3 separate regions of the Homo sapiens genome follow, and all the other regions are linked to region 3. The links are contacts of gene promoters, found by promoter capture Hi-C in human tissues and cell types (Jung and others, 2019). All regions are on one chromosome and are shown on one strand. The core of a region is centred on a gene start or on the middle of the fragment in contact, and the rest is flanking DNA. Distances in the headings are between cores, read along the strand shown.

What was found. The method cuts DNA at HindIII sites, captures the fragments that hold promoters and counts their contacts. A contact is called where the count stands out against the background at its distance.
Region 1: a contact is called between a fragment that was not itself captured here and the fragment with the promoter of TRIP4 in region 3, in 5 of the 25 tissues and cell types used here (hippocampus, liver, lymphoblastoid cells and 2 more).
Region 2: a contact is called between a fragment that was not itself captured here and the fragment with the promoter of TRIP4 in region 3, in 3 of the 25 tissues and cell types used here (IMR-90 fibroblasts, mesendoderm cells and spleen).

Annotation. Positions count from the first base shown.
Region 1 is chr15:64,502,928-64,507,166 of GRCh38, reverse strand. All of the region lies in intron 2 of ZNF609 (zinc finger protein 609), which reads right to left. Among named protein-coding and RNA genes, the nearest start is that of ZNF609, 44 kb to the right of the region's middle. The HindIII fragment of the contact is 8,439 bases long and covers 1-4,239 here.
Region 2 is chr15:64,296,357-64,300,403 of GRCh38, reverse strand. It overlaps CSNK1G1 (casein kinase 1 gamma 1), which reads left to right. Exons shown (of 12, transcript NM_022048.5): 2 at 1-85. Among named protein-coding and RNA genes, the nearest start is that of CSNK1G1, 58 kb to the left of the region's middle. The HindIII fragment of the contact is 7,582 bases long and covers 1-4,047 here.
Region 3 is chr15:64,386,448-64,390,431 of GRCh38, reverse strand. It overlaps TRIP4 (thyroid hormone receptor interactor 4), which reads right to left and starts at 2,596. Exons shown (of 13, transcript NM_016213.5): 1 at 2,468-2,596. The coding sequence starts at 2,568. It also overlaps a transcript of PCLAF not described here. RefSeq lists enhancers at 1,880-2,380, 2,310-2,799, 2,381-2,881. The HindIII fragment of the contact is 11,205 bases long and covers 1-3,984 here.

The sequences.
Region 1 (4,239 bases), core at 1,250-3,749, 120 kb before region 3:
GTAACATCTATCCAACATACCCAACCCCATGCCAGGGATATGGCCAGAAAAGAAGCTCGATTCATATGAAGTCTGAAATTCAACAGGCCACTTCAATATGCCCTAAGCTAATTTTTGGTCTTCCCCCCACCTCCAACTATAATTATCAGGGGCTTTAGAACACATCACCACCATGAAAATTTCCCAGCCTAGATTTGGAACTTCTTCAGACCATAGTGCTAAAAAGTCTTAGCTAACATGTATATCTATTCATACTGGGATTCCTGTAAAGTGGAATGTTGTTGTATTTCAGTACATTATTGCCTAGGAGAGACTAAGACCAATTTCCACTCAAACTGTATTTTTCTTTTTTCTAATATTTATTGAATGCTTCCTACGTGCCAGGCACTAAGTGTTTTATATGAATTAGCTAACTTAATCTAAAGACAAACTTTTTTTTTTTTCTTGAGACAGAGTTTTGCTCTTGTTGCCCAGGCTGGAGTGCAACAGCACAATCTCAGCTCACTGCAACCTCTGCCTCCCGGGTTCAAGTGATTCTCCTGCCTCAGCATCCTGAGTAGCTGGGACTACAGGCATGCACCACCACGCCCGACTAATTTTGTATTTTTAGTAGAGACAGGGTTTCTCCATGTTGGTCAGGCTGGTCTCGAACTCCCGACCTCAGGTGATCCACCCGCCTTGGCCTCCCAAAGTGCTGGGATTATAGGCGTGAGCCACCGCGCCCGGCCTAAAGACAAACTTAAAGGCTGGGTGTGACGGCTCATGCCTGTAATCCCAGCACTTTGGGAGGCCAAGGCGGGTGGATCACTTGAGCCCAGGAGCTCGACACCAGCCTGGCCAACACAACGAAACCCTGTCTCTACTAAAAATACAAAAATTAGCCAGGCATGGTGGTGCATGCCTGTAATCCCAGCTACTCTGGAGGTTAAGGCAGAGGTTGCAATGAGCAGAGACTGCACCACTGCACTCCAGCCTGGGCGGCAGAGTGAGACTCCCTCTCATAAATAAATAAATAAATACAAACTTATGTAGGTGCTATTTCTCTCATTTTGCAGATAAGAAAACTGAGGAAGAACAATTAAGAAACTTGGTCAAGATCACTCAGTAAATAAGTGCAAAGGTAGGAAACAAAGCCAGGTAGTCTGGCTCCAGAGTTCACACTTTTTAAAAAATTTATTATTATTATTTTTTTGAGACGGAGTCTCACTCTGTTGCCCAGGCTGGAGTGCACTAGTGCGATCACAGCTCACTACTGCAGCCTCAACCTCCCAGGCTCAAGCCAGGAGGCCTGGCTAGAGTTTACGCTTTTAGCCACTAAATTATACATAAGAGTTGATGTGAAATTCAAGTTTAGAAGGCTGGTGTTTTAAATGAGAAGTGGCCCCGAATACTTACCTTGAAAGGAAAATTCTCAAACTTTGATGTATATAGCAATTATCTGGAGAGACTTCTGGAAGTACAGATTTCTGGGCCCTTACCCCAAAAACTTATTCGGCATATCTAGGGTAGGGTCCAAGAATGTGCATTTTTGATACTCTGGTGATGTACATGGTTTTATGGGACACACTTTTAGGAACTCTGCTGTAGACGGTAAACTGTAAGCTCCTCAAAAAGCAGAGACCATCTCTGTTTTATTTACCAGTGTATACCCAATACCAAGTAGAAAACCTAGTATCTAAAATGCATTCAATTAATGTACTGACTGAATGAAAAGTGATAACAATTAGCCAACAGTATATCTTCTCTACAAAATACTTAGTAATATCCACAATACATTTGAAGGTCTGCCTATTAGTGATGTGTCCAAGGAAGAAGCACTAGAACAGGGTTTTTTTTCTTACCTGCAATTGCCAAGTAAAGAAAGAACTATTCCTCAATTATTATAATGAAAATTTGGCTGGATGAAATATTCCAGAACACACACACATATATCATAAGTAGTCAAGCTCAAAGTAGCAGTTTTAAAGTAACTTTCCTTCTTTATAAATAACAGGATAGGTTCAGTGCCAGCTGTAATGGTTATTCTTTGCAAACATCATTCATTACCTTACCTAAAATCCTAAACTCAAAGATCCTTTGTTTATTGAGTGTCTACAATGTTAAAGTCACTGTGAAAAACAAGTGAAAGCAGTTTTGGGGTAAAAGCAATTTTGGAGTATGTAAGCATTTTCATCTAATGTTTCAAGGTAGTCTTTACATTGAAAAAATGGCTGGGTGTGGTGGCACACACTTGTAGTCCCAGCTACTTGCGAGGCCAAGGCAGAAGTGCATAAGTGAGACCAAGGCAGAAGTGCATAAGTGAGGCCAAGGCAGAAGTGCATAAGCCCAGGAGTTCAAGATCAGCATTGGCAACATAGCGAGACCCTGCCTTAAAAATAAGCAAATAGGCTGGGTGTGGTGGCTCATGCCTGTAATCTCAGCACTCTGGGAGGCCGAAGCAGGTGGATCACTTGAAGTCAGGAATTTGAGACCAGCCTGGCCAACATGGTGAACCCCTATCCCTACTAAAATTAAAAAAAAAAAAAAAAAACTAGCCAGGCATGGTGGTATGCACTTGTAATCCCAGCTACTCGGGGAGCTAAGGCAGGAGAATCGCTTGAATCAGAGGCAGAGGCTGCAATGAGCCGAGATCGTGCCACTGCACTCCAGCCTGGGTGACAGAGTGAGTCTCCATCTCGAAAATAATAATACTAAGAAAATAACAAATAAAGTGGGAAAATTGAGAATCCTTCCTGACAGTTAAAGATTTGTTAAGAATCCCAGAGTAACAACATGCCATAAGAATTTGGTGTCTACAAATCTGGCTTTGCCAGTGACTACCTGTGAGATGCTGGGCAAGTCACAGGACTTCACTGGTCTTAGTTTCTTCTATAAAATGAGGAAATTGGACAAGATAATCTTTCTCTGGAACTGCCTTGAATTACAACACCTAGAAGGAAAACAGAGTTTCTGAATGAAAAAATAAATTAAGCTTGTAGTTACAGAATGCAACTCTGTCCCACATAAATATCAACTTCTTTTTAATGTTTTCCATGAAGGAAAATCTTGAGGGCATTTGGTTTCAGGAAGCAAAGCTGACTGCTCTGCCATCAATAGCTGAGAAATAACAGCTAGTGGAAGAAGGCGTTAAGAAAGCCTTGGATCAGAAGGAATAAAAGAGACCTGACCTTGGTTAGGCAATGAGGGACTACAATACAAGAGAACTAAGCTAGAAGGCACAAATTAGGGCAGGAATACAAAACCAATGGCAAAGGAAGATGCTCTTAAGAACACAGGATATGATAGCATGCATGATCAGAAGTTGAAAGAGCAAAGAGCACACTTTATGGTTTTCTTTGTATCCTAAACTAATGGGGGAAGTGGTAAATATATGCAGCATTCTGAAAGCAGCAGAAGCTGACATTCAAACACGGGAAAAGCAAAGTGCAGTGTTCCTACCTTGCAAGATCAAAAGCAGCAGCTAAAGACATGTGAGGGGGAGCTTCTGGTTAGAAACTTCTAGATCCTTTCTTTAACTACTAGAGCCTACTTGGCTATTTTATATGATTTGGGGGAAAAGAAGGAGTCTCACCTTAAACTCCTGGTCGTAAGCCCTGACAAAGTCAGCACAGATAGATCGTTGCCATCTGTGGTTTGTAAATTCCTTTTTTCTTGCCTGTCAGAGTGGCGACATAAGCACTAAGCTCAGGACACTCAGACAGGCGCCTGCCCTCCTCCCTACCTCCCCTTCCATCCCTAACTTAACAATCCATCAATCAAACTAAAGGCAAGGGAACAGGCAAGAGCTGGAAGGCTCTGTCTTGTTTATTCCTCAACATTCCCTCCCCCATCTCTTCAGCTGGCAGGAAGTATGAGGCAGAAGTGTTCAATAACAATTCAGAGCAGCAGCAGTTGCTAAGAGCCATCTCTGGTCTCTCCTAGAACTCTGGGAAACAGCACAGAGCTCACTCTGTCAGAGGAAGGTATGGTCGAGCAAAAGTGGGATCCCATGAAGGGAAATCCACATCCTTGTCTGACAGAAAATTTCCCAGGCCATAGCCTGAGATATCTACCTTCACAAAGAAGAACATGAGATAGATAATTTCTCTCTTTCTTTTTTTTTTTTTTTGAGACAAGGTCTGGCTCTATTGCCTAGGCTGGAGTCCAGTGGTGCCGTCTCAGCTCAATGCAACCTCCACCTCGCAGGCTCAAGCTATCCTTCCACCTCAGCCTCCCCAGTAGCTGGGATTACGGGTGCAC
Region 2 (4,047 bases), core at 223-2,722, 89 kb after region 3:
TCGTCCTCTGGGGTTCTTATGGTGGGACCCAACTTCAGGGTTGGCAAGAAGATAGGATGTGGGAACTTCGGAGAGCTCAGATTAGGTAAGCACTTGGTTATGTCAGTGACTTCTACTAACAACAATACCTATGATAAGCTTTGGTGTGTTTCAAGACAAGCCGTTTATAGTTTTACAAGAAATTTTTCTTAAGGAGAACCTGTTGTTAAGAAATAATTTGTGAAGGGGCACTATAGTCATTATCAATTATTTGTTATCCAAGGCTCATCTCTCTTTATGTGTGTGCGATGGGCTTTTAAGTTTTCTACCAGTTCTGAGATTTTCTGATGAACATAGAGTTGCATACAGATATCAGTAAAATGCAGACTCTGATTTAGGATGTCTGAGGTGGAGCCCCAAATTCTGCATATTTTTACAAATTCCAGGTGATGCAGATGCTGTTGGTCTTTTAAGAAGGACATAAGGCCTTGGTTTAATTCAGACTCTGCCCCTGAAAAGAAAAGAGTAAATCCTTACTCAGTAATACCCAGGCTTAGTCTGCAAGGATATACAGTACATCCTGTTTGGAGAAATTTTCCAAAAGATAATTTGTTTGCGTTTCTTCCTGGAGTTTCCAGCATTAGAATTAAGTTAGAACTCCAAGGAGAAGTTAGGCAATTTTATTTCCCAACTAAGGCAATGGATTTTCTATTTCAATTATGAATTTATGGGTGAGATGGAAAATAATGACAAAATTAATCTGTCTAAAAATGTGAGATTGGGAAGAAGGTACATTGGGTATTTATATATATATATAAAATTTTTTTTTTTTTGAGATGGAGTCTTACTCTGTCGCCCAGGCTGGAGTGCAGTGGCGCGATCTCGGCTCACTGCAAGCTCTGCCTCCCGGGTTCATGCCATTCTCCTGCCTCAACCTCCCAAGTAGCTGGGACTACAGGCATCCGCCACCACGCCCGGCTAATTTTGTTTTTGTATTTTTAGTAGAGACAGGGTTTCACCATGTTAGCCAGGATGGTCTTGATCCTCTGACTTCGTGATCCGCCCGCCTCGGCCTCCCAAAGTGCTGGGATTACAGGCGTGAGCCACCGCGCCCGGCCATTTATATACTTTTTAATGGCTCTCCCTTGATGAGTGGGATAGAGAAAATAAAAGGCCGTATAAATATATGAAGTTGGAAATTAGCCTGGAGAATGTGGAAAGGTCATCTTTTAGGCTAAAGTGTTTTCTTTTCCTTCATAGCTCTTGAGACTGTGGATTAATGTGAAGACTCATTGTAAGAAACTTTGGCCCTTTGGGGGGAGTGGTGGGAGGGTGGGAACATAATGTAATTATGTTTGTTACCTCTGCTACTTCTTTTTCTTTTTGAGATGGAGTGTTGCTCTGTCACCCAGGCTGGAGTGCAGTGGTGCGATCTCAGCTCACTGCAACCTCCTCTTCCCAGGTTCAAGTGATTCTTGTGCCTCATCCTCCAGAGTAGCTGGGACTTACAGGCATGTGCCACCATGCCCAGCTTATTTTTTTTTTTTTTGTATTTTTGTGGAGACGGGCTCTTGCCATATTGGCCAGGCTGGTCTTGACCTCCTGGCCTCAAGTGATCCACCCGCCTCGGCCTCCCAAAGTGCTGGGATTACAGGCTGAGCCACTACGCCTGACCACCTCTGCTACTTGTGATGGTCCTGCATAGAGAACATGGACAAAATCTTATCTCTGATCCCCCATAGAGAGCCTTGGAGAAACATCACTATACTAGCCAGAGACCATTTGAATTTAAGAATGATGAGAATGGATTTATTTTTACTGTTAGAAGGCTGACAACCTGGAAATTCAGGACTTAATTAGGATAATGAAAGGATCTTTATATTTAGAATTGTGTTCGGGTTACCAAAGCCAGCAGATGCTACTTACAATACGAGTAAGATGTGTAATTACTGCTTTACTTTCTAGCAATCACAGAGTTGCTTTAACGAATAGTTCTGTGAATATTTCTTTATGTCATAAATTGACTGTAACATCACAGTACTACTTGGATGGATTAAATAATTATGACATAAACATCCATAAAATGATTGCTAAGAGGCAGTTTCTAAAGCATCTAAATCTTTGAATTCTCAAAACATCAGACAATTGTTTCATTTCTGTGAAAGTGAAGAAAAACCTTGGTGAATTAAAAGTGGAAATCTGTTTAATCACTGAAGTCTAGATTTGTATTATAAGTTTACGTGGGAAGGGAAAAATTCATTCAGTTAAAAGCATACATTTATAGCCCATATATATTTTCAGAGTAGTATTGTGTTTTGTTTCCTCTTTGAATCTGAGATAATTTTGATGTTTCTCATTTGGACTTGCCTGTAGTCAGAAGAACTTGTCTTTCTTTTCATGTGCTTTTACTCTTCTCTGCTTATCAAGTTTTCATTAGCCCTGGGACCATACTGTTATGGCCTTGTATCTAGAAAAGATACTTTCAGAATTATCTGGCATCTTCCTGACAATAGAGTGGGCTGCATACCCCATTCCGTCATTTTCTTGTTCTAATATTAGCGAGGAGAAGATTGTAAACTACAAAATTCCAAAGTCAAGGCAGGTGCAGTCAGCCTACATCATGGCTACCACCTACAAAGCTCTGCTTCTCTAAACTAATTTCCTTTCCTAGACACACAGTCTGTCAAACAGCCAAGTGCATTTCTTCTTATTCTTTTTTTTTTTTTGAGAGACAGGGTCTTGCTCTGTTACCCGCCCTGGAGTGCAGTGGCATGATCATAGCTCACGCAGCCTCCAACTCCCAGGCTCAAGCGATCCTCCTACTTCAGCCTCCTTAATAGCTAGTGCATAAGAACACGCCCAGCTAATTTTTTTATTTTTAAATGTTTTGTAGAGATGATGTTTTGCAGGCTGGTCTTGAACTCCTGGCCTCAAGCGATTCTCCTGCCTTGGCCTTCCAAAGTGTTGGGATTACAGATGTGAGCCGCCACACCTGACCAACCGTGTGCATTTCTGCTTCAGAGCCTTTACACTTGCAATTCCTTCTGCTTGCAGAATTATTTCCCTAAAATTTTGCGTAGTGGGTTGTTTCTCATCCTTTAGGCCTCAGCTTATGTCTTACCTTCTCAGAGAAACATTCTATCACTTGTTCCTCATTCTCATTTAAAATAGCACGTTTCTTCTCTAGCACATCCTGTCTCGTCAAACTGCTTTATTTTATTCATTGCATTCATCACTATCTGAAATGACCATATGTATGTTTCCCTATTAATTGCCTCTCCTTACTTGAATATAAGCCCTTTAAAGGGCAGGGATTCTTTCTGTATTGTTTACTGTTATTTATGAGATGGAAGGATAAAAAGCTGATGAATAGGAAGAGGGGGGAAAATAAAGCATACTTTCTTTGGGCTCCAGGTTTATGTGGGGGTGGTGGTAGATAGTAGACCTATCGGTTCCAAACAGCAAAAAAAAAAAAAAAAAAAAAAAAGTAACGATAGTGCATTTTGGTTCTCTGCAAATGTTTCCACCCCATTATACAGTTTTCTTTTTTTTTTTTCTTTTAGATGGAGTTTTGCTCTTTTTGCCCAGGCTAGAGTGCAGTGGCACAATCTCGGCTCACTGCAACCTCTGCCTCCCGGGTTCAAGTGATTCTCCTGTCTCAGCCTCCCAAGTAGCTGGGATTACAGGCGTGTGCCTCCATGCCCGGCTAATTTTTTATTTTTAGTTGAGGCAGGGTTTCACCATGTTGGCCAGGCTGGTCTCGAACTCCTGACCTCAGGTGATCTGCCCACGTCAGCCTCCCAAAGTGCTAGGATTACAGGCGTGAGCCACTGCACCCAGCCTTCATCATACATTTAACAACTATTTCTTGAATATTTACTGATACTAGACTCTGGGAAGGATAGAAATAAGAAGATATAGTTTTTGTCTCTACAAATACCACAGTCTAGTGGTAGACAGAGAAAAACAAATTGCAATACAAAGTGATAATATAGCAGATTGGGGGCTGGGTGTAGTGGCTTATGCCTGTAATCCCAGCACTTTGGGAGGCCAAGGCAGGCAGATGAC
Region 3 (3,984 bases), core at 1,347-3,846:
TGGAGTGCAGTGGTGCGGTATCAGCTCACTGCAACCTCTGCCCCGCGGTTCAAGGGATTCTCCTGCCTCAGCCTTCCGAGTAACTGAGATGACCTGCACGCTCCACCACACCCGACTAAGTTTTGTATTTTTAGTAGAGTGGGGGTTTCGCCATGTTGGCCAGGCTGGTCTGAAATTCCTGACCTCAAATGATCCATCTGCCTCGGCCTCCCAAAGTGCTTAGATTACACACATGAACCACTGCGCCTGGCCACCTCAATCTTTTTTTTTTAATACTGTATTTAATATAATACACATATTTAATATATTTAATATAATATTTGATATATTTAATATTTAATATATTTAATATAATATTTGATATATTTAATATTTAATATATTTGATATTTAATATATTACACATATTTACAATAAATATGTGAAAATTGGGCCAGGCGTGGTGGCTCATGCCTGTAATCCCAGCACTTTGGGAGGCTGAGGCGGTTGGATCATCTGAGGTCAGGAGTTCGAGACCACCCTGGTCAACATGGTGAAACCCCATCTCTAGTAAGAATACAAAAATTAGCCAGGCATGGTGGTGCGCGCCTGTAATCCCAGCTGCTCGGGCTGAGGAAAGAGAATCGCTTGAACGTGGGAGGCGGAGGTTGCAGCGAGCTGAGATCGCACCACTGCACTCCAGCCTGGGCAACAGAATCTGTCTCAAAAAAAAAAAAAAAAAAAAGTGAAAATTTTGAACTTATATTCGTAAAAAACACTTTTCTGTTTTATATATTGCAAAGTTTCATTATTTCATTTGATAGCATTCCACTGCTTTAAAAAATGTTTGAAAACTACTAAATACTTAATCTGACTGCGTTCAAGCAAGGGTAAAGCCAAACCATAAGATTTCGCTGTTTTGTTTTGTTGTCTATTCTAGTGTTAAAAAAAATCCTTTATCTTGTTGTTTACTTTTTTTATTTCTGTAGAGACAGGGTCTCACTATGTTGCCCAGGGTGGTCTCCAACTCCCAGTCTCAAGCAATCCTCCCACCTCTACCTCCCAAAGTGCTGGGAATAAGGGCTTGAGCCATCTCCTAGGGCCTCAAAAAAATCCATTAAAATAACCTACTTGAACTGTCTCCTTGCCAAAAGTCTATTTTCTCCGAAACTCAGAAACTCATCTTACTTCCTACAAAAGCCCTAGAACAGCAATTTAGGTTTCAACATCAGTGACCAAGGAATCAAATGAAGGAACACTTTCAGTTCTTCGATCAAGTCCCATTTTTGTAGTTTTCTCCCCTGCCTGAACACTTTGGACCGCCACCTCTGTCTATTCCTTAGTTCTCGGGTGAAAGTTATCCTTTCCAATAAACCTTCCGAGTTTTTCAAATCTTAATGAGAATCCTTTATTTTGTGCTCCAACAAGCCCCTTCATTTCCCCAACCTCAGCACTCATCAACGAAGGGGAACCCAACTGTCTTGTCTTTGTTACCCCAGCACCTGGCGTGTAACAGCAGCGCAACAAATGTTCTTCAATCAGTTGAAAGTAGATATTAAGTCATGTACACCATCTCCATTTCATAGGAGTCATAAAGCATGATAAGCTCTACTAATGATTAATCTTATAAATGAAGAAACCAGGGTACAGAGAGAAAAATTAAGTTGTCCTGGGTTCTAAAACAGGTAAACGACAACAGAATATAGAACCTGAGACTCCAGAGTCAGAAGCTATTTGTACTCTACCACGCTGCTTCCACTTAAATTCTAGGTCCTATTGACACAGCTGACCCTGTTGGCTCTACTGACACAACTCAGATTGGGCCGACTAAAATGTTCAGAGTATATCTGGGTGCGGTGGCTCATGCCTGTAATCCCAGCACTTTGGGAGGTCGAGGCGGGCGGATCACTTGAGATCAGGAGCTGGAGACTAGCCTGGCCAACATGGTGAAACACTGACTCTACTAAAAATTTTTAAAAATTAGCCGGGTGTGGTGGTGCGTGCCTGTAATCCCAGCTACTTGGGAGGCTCAGGCAGGTGAATCACCTGAACCCGGAAGGCGGAGGTTGCAGTGAGCCAAGATCGCGCCACCGCACGCCAGCCTGGGCGACAGAGACTCCGTCTCAATAATAACAACAATAATAATAAATAAATAAAAGAGTAAGGGGTTCAAAGTTAGGAAATACAGTTTGACCTGCCCCTTCTCTCTAGAAAGGAAACTGGCTCCTGGGACAGCCTTGCATTTCTAATTATTACAGATTGGGCGTCTTCCCAGGAAAAAAGCCCGACCGGCAGACTGTGGAGCCGGACACCCTATTCCAGAAACTAAACTACAAAGGTGGAGGCCAAAATTCGACGCCTACAGACTACAGACTGCAGCCCCTTTATCACATTTCTCTCTTAACTTTTCAGTCCTCCCCGCTTCCCGGTTCGCTCAGGCAGTGCACATCCCAGAGCTCCTTCCCCGCTTGGACCCGAACTGTTCTCACTGAATGATCTCCTCGCTGACATCCAGGCCGAAAGTCTTCCGCAACTGCTGGGTGCACCAGTGCACCAGCGGCTCCCCGGACACCGCCCCAGCCACCGCCATCTTCCCCAGCCGGAACCAGCTGAGCTGCAAAAGCCCCACGTCCTGCACCGGACTAGTTCCCTTCGCAACACCAACCTCTCTCACGCGGGTTCCGCCAGCTTGCACCGCCCCGCAAGGTCGCACCGCCTCCAGTGCAGATCCCGCCCATCTGTGCGCCTCCTGCTTCTTCCTGCTTTGTTGTCTACTTCCTTGTGCCCTCCGGAGTCGAGCTCTGTCAGTGCATGATTCTTGCCAATCGCTAAACGTAGGACTCGAGGAAGGCCATTGGCAATTCTGCTAAGAAGACAGTGCAAGTGCCTATAAAAACGACAGTTTAGGGGGAAAACAAACCAATACCCGGAAAGCTGAGAGGCCAGCTTTTTAATCGTCATGGTTTTATGTAAAATAAAACAGCACGTGGAAGGTATTGTAAGCGCTGTAAGTTTTTGCTCTGGTGGTGGTTTTAATTTTTTAATTAATTAATTAATTTATTTATTTATTTTGAGACGGAGTCTCGCACTGTCGCCCAGGCTTGAGTGCAGTGGCATGATCTCGGCTCACTGCAAGCTCCGCCTCCCGGGTTCATGCCATTCTCCTGCCTCAGCCTCCCAAGTAGCTGGGACTACAGGCACCCGCCACCACGCCCGGCTAATTTTTTTTGTATTTTTAGTAGCGACGCGGTTTCACGTGTTAACCGGGATGGAGTGTTTATTTTTAATACCCCCTGTAGTCGACTACTAGATTCACACCGCTAAAACTTCTATTTTATTTTTTGAGCCATGTATTTTCCAGGAGAGCCAAGACAACTCAGCAAGCTCGAGGGTAAAAAACAGTAAAACAGGAGTTGGAATTTGGCTTTGAGGACTTTCCACATGAGTTCTCAACCAAAAATGACAGTATTTAAGGGCTGTCTGCAATTCCCTACCCCGCTAAGACAATGGGCTGGGGAAAATTTAGCCAAACTTTTCTGGAGATCATAATGTCTTCCCATTCATTTCTGGCTTTTTGTTGCATTTGCAGGTTAAAAGTTCTTCATTTCTACTAGCCTGTTTAGACTAAGTGGTCACATTAAATTGGCAGCTGTTTTACCTTTTTGCTAGTGTTTTCATTGGCATAAATATTATAATTAAAATCATGAGTGTATTGGCCGGGCGCAGTGTCTCATGCCTGTAATCCCAGCGCTTTGGGAGGCCGAGGCGGGAGGATCACCCGAGCGCACACGGAGACACACACACAAACACACACACACACACACACACACACACTGGGCGTGGTGGCTCATGCCTGTAATGCCAGCACTTTGGGAATCAGAGGCAAGAGGATCACTTGAGCCCAGGAGTTCCGGACCAGTCTGGGCAGCATAAGGAGAATCCTCATCTCTACAAAAATGAAAAAAATTAGCCTGGCATGGTGGCACATGCCTGTAGTCTCAGCTAC